Linked DNA regions of Homo sapiens: region 1 is linked to region 2. The links are contacts of gene promoters, found by promoter capture Hi-C in blood cells and fetal thymus (Javierre and others, 2016). All regions are on one chromosome and are shown on one strand. The core of a region is centred on a gene start or on the middle of the fragment in contact, and the rest is flanking DNA. Distances in the headings are between cores, read along the strand shown. Region 1 has its middle 28 kb from the start of GPRC5B. Region 2 holds the start of PDILT (protein disulfide isomerase like, testis expressed).

Region 1 (3,223 bases), core at 599-3,098, 490 kb after region 2:
TAGTCCCAGCTGCTCAGAAGACTGAAGCTGGAGGCTTGGTGGAGCCCAGGAGTTTGAGTTCATCCTGGGCAACATAGCAAGACCCTATCACAAAAAAATAAGAAGTAAAATAATAATAATGCAAAATAAAACATCTTTTAAAATGATAGGTGTTACTATTGTGGCTCTTGGTGAGGACAGCAGATGGCTCATCAGAATTTCTTCCAGAGCCTCTCTTGGCCTCCCCACCGTGCCAGGCAACCACGGAAACATTCAGTCTTCAGATTACCAACCTCAACTGCAAACTAGAAAGGAGGGTCCCAGAATGGAAAGTGCCACCCTAAGAATGGAAAGTGCCACCCTAAATTGCAAACAGACCCCCCGGGTGCCAGGCGAGAGCCTCAAACACGCTCTCTACTTTGCTCAGGCTCTCGGAGTCAATCAGCTCAGGCTCTGATGCAGAAACGCTTACCGCCCTGAACTCGAATAAAGCTCACACTCAGACTCCAGGAACCACCGTCTTTTACATCCCCATCGATCCTCTAAGCCTATTTTTATGATTCCTCTTCCCAGTGAGTGTTGTGTATATTTTTGGGCTGTGTTCCTCTCATAAATAAATAAATGTGTAGGTAAATACTAATAAGAGCTAGCATTTATTAAGCACTTGGCGTGGTGCCAGGGATGGTGCTGAGGGGTTTGCCTGTTATTTTATTTCACCATCATGATGACCTAATGAAACTGGCACCATAATGATCCGCATTTTACAGGAAAGGAAACTGACACTCAGAGGGATGAGGTCATTTGTCATTTCCCCCAAAAAAGGGGCAGAACAGGGATTTGACCTCAAGTCTGTCTGATCCAAAGCCCCGATTACTGAGTTCTGAGCAGCTCGTGTGGACATGAACCCAAACTTCATCTCACTTCCTAAGTGCCTTCCTTCCTTCGGTCCCCACTAATTAAGCTTCTGCCGTCGATGCCAAGCCGGACAGGGAAATGCTAAGTGCTCAAACTAAGCTGATGATTTGAAAATGCCAATAGTCCTTCATTTCTGCTGACCACCCTGAGCCTGGGGCCGGCTCACTCCTGAGCCTGGGACCCAGAACAACGTAATGGATGAGCCGCGTGTTGAGCAATGCTTTATGCCATTCAGGAGTGACTCGGGCTGAGCTCATCTCAGTAGTCAGCGTGTTAATTACAACTGCCCAAATGAGGCCCATTCATCCATTAATACCAATGAGCCAGCTCCAGAAGGCAGAGGCAAGATGACTCGCACTCATGAATCTTGCTCATTGTAGATTCGACAACCACCATGGCCTGGCCACCCAGGCTACATCTTCATTGATATCGAATTATTTGTACTTCCCCTGCAAGTCTCTCCAATTTTCACCCCATCCTTTCCCAAAGAAGACCTCAAAGAAGAAGCAAAAGGCAGCATGCCTGGCACAAAAGACGTGGGCTTCAAAGCTTGAGAGACTCGGTCGAATCCTGGCTCTGCCACTGACCAACAGAGTGACCTTAGGCAGGTCATTTCATGTCTCTGGGCCTCAGTTATCCCATCTGTCAAATGGGGCTAATCACTTCCACCCCTCTTTCGTGTTCATACTGGGAGCTAGAAGATGTGATATCTAAATGTTCCAGCTTGCAGCAAGGCTCAGCGCATGTTAGCTGTTGTTACTAATTGTATCATTAGATGGCTTGGATCACTTTCACGTCATTTCCCCCAGCGCACTGGGGTTTATGGGATGGCAGCTACCATGTGGCTGGAGAGTGATTCCCAAATTTCAGTGCACTGGGGATGCTTGTTTAAAACACAAGATCTGAAGCCCCCAGCCATTCTGATTCCAGAGTAGAGCTGAAGACTGCGTGTTTGGTAACCACCTCGGGGTTTAAGGCTTTCAGACAGCCGTTCTCAGCCCTGCCTACACACTGGGATCACGGGGAAGCGGGGAAAGGAAGTGGGGGAGGTGGGGGGGAAGAGGTTTAGTTTTTTTAATGCCTGGATCCTAACTGCAGAAATTCTGATGTTCTGGGGCCCTTGTGTGGCTGGGATATCAGGATTTTTTTCTAAAGTTCCCCCAGATGATTTTAATGTGCAACCAGGGCTGAGACCTACTGCTATCAGCCAGTGTTTCTCAGAGCGTGGTGCAGGGACCCACACATCGGCATCAGGCTCACTGGGAACGTGTCTGAAATGCAGATTCTCCCTCTGTCCTACCTCAACCTGCTGATTCAGAGACTCTGGGGGTGGGACTTAGCACTGATTTATAAAGCTTTCAAAGGGATTCATTTTTTTGGTGTTTTTTTTTTTTTCTTTTTTTTTTGGATACAAGGTCTGGCTCTGTCACCCAGGCTGGAATGCAGTGGTGCAATCACAGCTCACTGCAGCCTCAACCTCCTGGGTTCAAGTGATCCTCCCACCTCAGTCTCCTGAGTAGCTGGGACTACAGGCTCGAACCACCATGGCTGGCTAATTTTGGGTTTTTTTTTTGTAGAGATAGGATCTCCATATGTTGCCCAGGCTGGTCTCAAACTCCTGGGCTCAGGCAATCCCCCCGGCCGGGGCATCCCAAAGTGCTGGGATTACAGGCATCAGCCACCAATGTCAGGCTCCCCTGGTGATTCTGACACACACTTAAGTTTAAGAACCCCTGCTATAAGGCCTGGCATCCCCCAGACTTCATGCTGTTAAGAACCACTTGGGGAAGAGGTTTGTTATTGCTCCCTTTTCCCACCCTTTCTCTTTTGAACACTGTTGTGTCGTGATGTGAAGCTTGGAGCTTTGGCAGCCATCTTACAAACATGAGGTAAAAACCAAGGCTTCACAGAGATAGCACCCCAGTGCCTCGCAGTCACTGAGTCACTGCCCCAACCTCTGACCCTCTACTTCCAAACTTCCCATTAGCTAAATGCCTTGATTGTTTAAGCTCCTATTATTTGAGTCTTCTCTTACTTGCAATGGAACACATTTTTTATTGGTATAAGTATTCCCAACACAGTATGAGTGCATAGAACAACTTTAAAAGATCCCTGCGATAGGCTGGGCATGGTGGCTCATGCTTATAATACTAGCACTTTGGGAGGTCAGGAGGACCTCTTGAGCCTAGGAATTTGAGACCAGCCTGGGTAACACAGTGAGACCCTGTCTCTACAAAAATTAAAACAAAATTAGTTGGGTGTGGTGGCACGTGCTCATAGTCCCAGCTACTCGAGAAGCTGAGGTGGGAGGATTGCTTGGGCCCAGGAG
Region 2 (3,134 bases), core at 502-3,001:
AAGTGCCTATGTTATGTCAAGAAACAACTGTGTGCAAGAGTGAAGGAAAATGAATGAAGGACATTTGGGATAATAACCCAAGTGTTTTAGTTTGTGACTAACAGTTGACAAGTGTGAAAGATGTCAAAATAATATATGCCAGACTAGATTGTTGATTTAGGCCTGGGAGAAAAAAGAGTCAAACACATCCCAGGAATTATTTGCAAACACAACATCCAGAAAAGGAATAATTGCCAAGAAAAGTTGAAAGGGACATGATGAGTTCAAATTAAGACATTCAGATATTCAGTGAGTGTGGTTCAACCAAAAAGAGCTTTTCTAATAGGCAGATGGAAAACGGTCTTAATAGTAAATGTAATCAATTGATCAAATCCTGGAGAGTAAATGAGAGAGTAACTTATAAAGGGGTGTATTTGAAGTCATGCATTTAAACAAGCCAACAAAAGTATGGAAGTTAAGTATGGAAAGAGAAGAGTGGGGCCGCATGCCGTGGCTCACGCCTGTAATCCCAGCACTTTGGGAGGCCGAGGCAGGCAGATCATTTGAGGTCAGGAGTTTGAGACCGACCTGGCCAATGTGGTGAAACCCCGTCTCTACTAAAAATACAAAAATTAGCCAGACGTGGTGGTGCATGCCTGTAGTCCCAGCTACTCAGGAGGCTGAGGCAGGAGAACCGCTTGAACCCTGGAGGTGAAGGCTACAGTGAGTGGAGATCGCGCCACTACACTGTCTCAAAGAAAAAGAAAAGAAAGAGAAGAGCAAAGCGCTAGGACTAAAACCCACAGATGTTAAAATTTAGTGAAATGAATGTTAGTCATCTCCATCAGTATTTAATAACAGTTGGGCAGCAGATAGCCAAAGGCTGCAAACTCTGACAGTAATAACGATGCTAATAATATCAACAGCCTTTTCTTTATTCATTCAACAAATATTTACTGAGCACCTATCACCAGGTAAGCAAAGTAAATTATGTGGAGTTTAGAAGAAAATTAATGCTATGAAGGAAAATAAAGCCTGGAAGGAGGATGAGGAACGCCTGAGAGGGGGATGGGGCACTTACAAATTTAAACAAAGTGGCCAGGAAAGGCCCAACTGTGGAAGTGACATTTGGGCAAAGACTGGAACGAGCTAAGGGGTGAACCCTGAGTCCACCTGGGTGAAGAGCCTCCCTAACAGGGGAAACCACAAGTGTAGAGGCCCAGACATTGTATTGGAGGACTGGCAGGGACACCAGTGTGGCTGGAGCAGGGTGAGTGGAGATCTTTCTCCCCTAGGAGATGAGGCCAGGGTGGTGATGCGTGAGGGGCTCCTGCCTTCTAGGTACTGAGCTGCTCGTTTTGCATAAATCCTCTTATTTTATCCCATCCCCCTCTCAGGCGTTCCTCATCATCCTTCCAGGTTTTATTTTTCTTCATATCATTAATTATCTTCTAAATTCCACATAATTTACTTTGCTTACAACACCCCCATGAGTTAGATGCCATGTAACAGGCATGGAAACTGAACCTCAGAAAGAGTAAGTGACATTCTCAAGGCCATACAGCTGTTCAAGACAGAGCTGGGATTCAAATTCCAATCTATAGGCACTGAGTTCAGAGCCCTCCTGGGCCATACCCAGCACCCCACACTGAGTTTTGTTTCTAGCCCCTCAAGCAAACTCAGCAAGGGCTGCCAGGCAGGGCCCCCTCTTACTCAACAATGGCCCATTCTTCTACAGGGTCACCCCTGGTCCTCTAGAACCCCAGAACTCAGAACTTTGCTGCTGAGGCTGCTGTGGCCTCTGTGTGCCCAGGAAGGGACTTCATTTCTGCCTGTGGATTCTTTAGAATGCCCAGTCGTCTGCGGGTCCTGCCCTGATCACAAGGAGAAGCCAGGAGCCTCCTCTTCAGGCTACAACCTTCCTTCTTAAGGGCCACAGAGTTTGTGGCCCCACCCCCAGCACAGCCCCACCTTGGCCCCAGGAACCCTGGGAGTGGCCTTGGCTTCCTGCAGGTATGAGCTTCAGTGAAAATGGGAAATCTGACTGATGGGCCCTGCCTTGGGAGGCTTTTCTCTACCAGGAGTCACCAGTTTAAGTTTTAAGTGTCAGTTTTGGTGTATAGATGGCTACACATTAGGATCAACTTGAGGATTTTAAAAAATAATAATAATGCCCAGACTCACCCAACCCCAGATCAATTAAATTAGAACCTACTGGGTTTGGGTTTGAACATCAGTATTTTTTATTAAACTCTCCAAGAGATTCTCAGCATAGTCATGGTTGAGAACCACTGAAATGAACCAATGGGGTTTGCTGTAAGAGTTAAATTAGGCCATTCATTCATTCATTCAACAAACATTCATTGAGTTCCAAATCTGGTACAGGCACTGTTCTGAAGGGGAGAAAACAGCTGTGAACAATGGTATTTACATTAAAAAGTTCAAAATGACAACAACAACAAAGTACACTCATAAATAATAATACAAAATATGATGCAAACAATGGTGATATGGCAGAGAGTGCTGAAAGCTGAGATGGGGTGAGACAGAGTGGCCCGGGAAGACCCTTCTGATGAGCGTGGATTCGAGCTAGGACCCAGAGAACCAGAAAAGGCTGACGATGTGAGGGAAGGGTGCCCCAGACAGAGGCAAAGGCCCCGGGTAGGGTGTGCTTGGGAAAGGGAAGAGGCCAGTGTGGCTCCCCAGAGTGCGGGAGGAGAGAGAGAGAGGAGGGCGATAAGGTCAGATGGGTCCAGAGCCAGTGGGGCCTGGTAGACCACAGAGAACAGTTTGGCTGGTGTGCGGTTTTGCGAATGGATTGTAAAAAAAAAAGAGGCAGAAGCTTTTTTTTGCACAAAAGTGAGCACCTTTTGATAGGCACAGTGGTGTGATGGAATTCCTGTGTCGAAAGGAAATCTCTGCTGGGCACGGTGGCTCACGCCTGCAATCTCAGCACTTTGGGAGGCCCAGGCAGGTGGATCACCTGAGGTCAGGAGTTTGAGACCAGCCTGGCCAACATGGTGAAATCCCGTTTCTACTAAAAATACAAAAATTAGCCGGGCATGGTGGCGGGTGCCTGTAGTCCCAGCTGCTAGGGAGGTTGAAGCAGGAGAATCGCTTAAACCCAGGAGGCGGAGGCTGCAGTGAGCCAAGAT

Evidence for each region. The method cuts DNA at HindIII sites, captures the fragments that hold promoters and counts their contacts. A CHiCAGO score of 5 or more calls a contact.
Region 1: a fragment that was not itself captured here is called in contact with the fragment with the promoter of PDILT in region 2 in 1 of 17 cell types (M2 macrophages); the score reaches 6.9 in M2 macrophages.

The regions. Positions count from the first base shown.
Region 1 is chr16:19,910,938-19,914,160 of GRCh38, reverse strand. No RefSeq gene overlaps it. Among named protein-coding and RNA genes, the nearest start is that of GPRC5B, 28 kb to the right of the region's middle. The HindIII fragment of the contact is 806 bases long and covers 1,446-2,251 here.
Region 2 is chr16:20,403,354-20,406,487 of GRCh38, reverse strand. PDILT (protein disulfide isomerase like, testis expressed) reads left to right here and starts at 1,751. Exons shown (of 12, transcript NM_174924.2): 1 at 1,751-1,992. The HindIII fragment of the contact is 3,157 bases long and covers 1-2,823 here.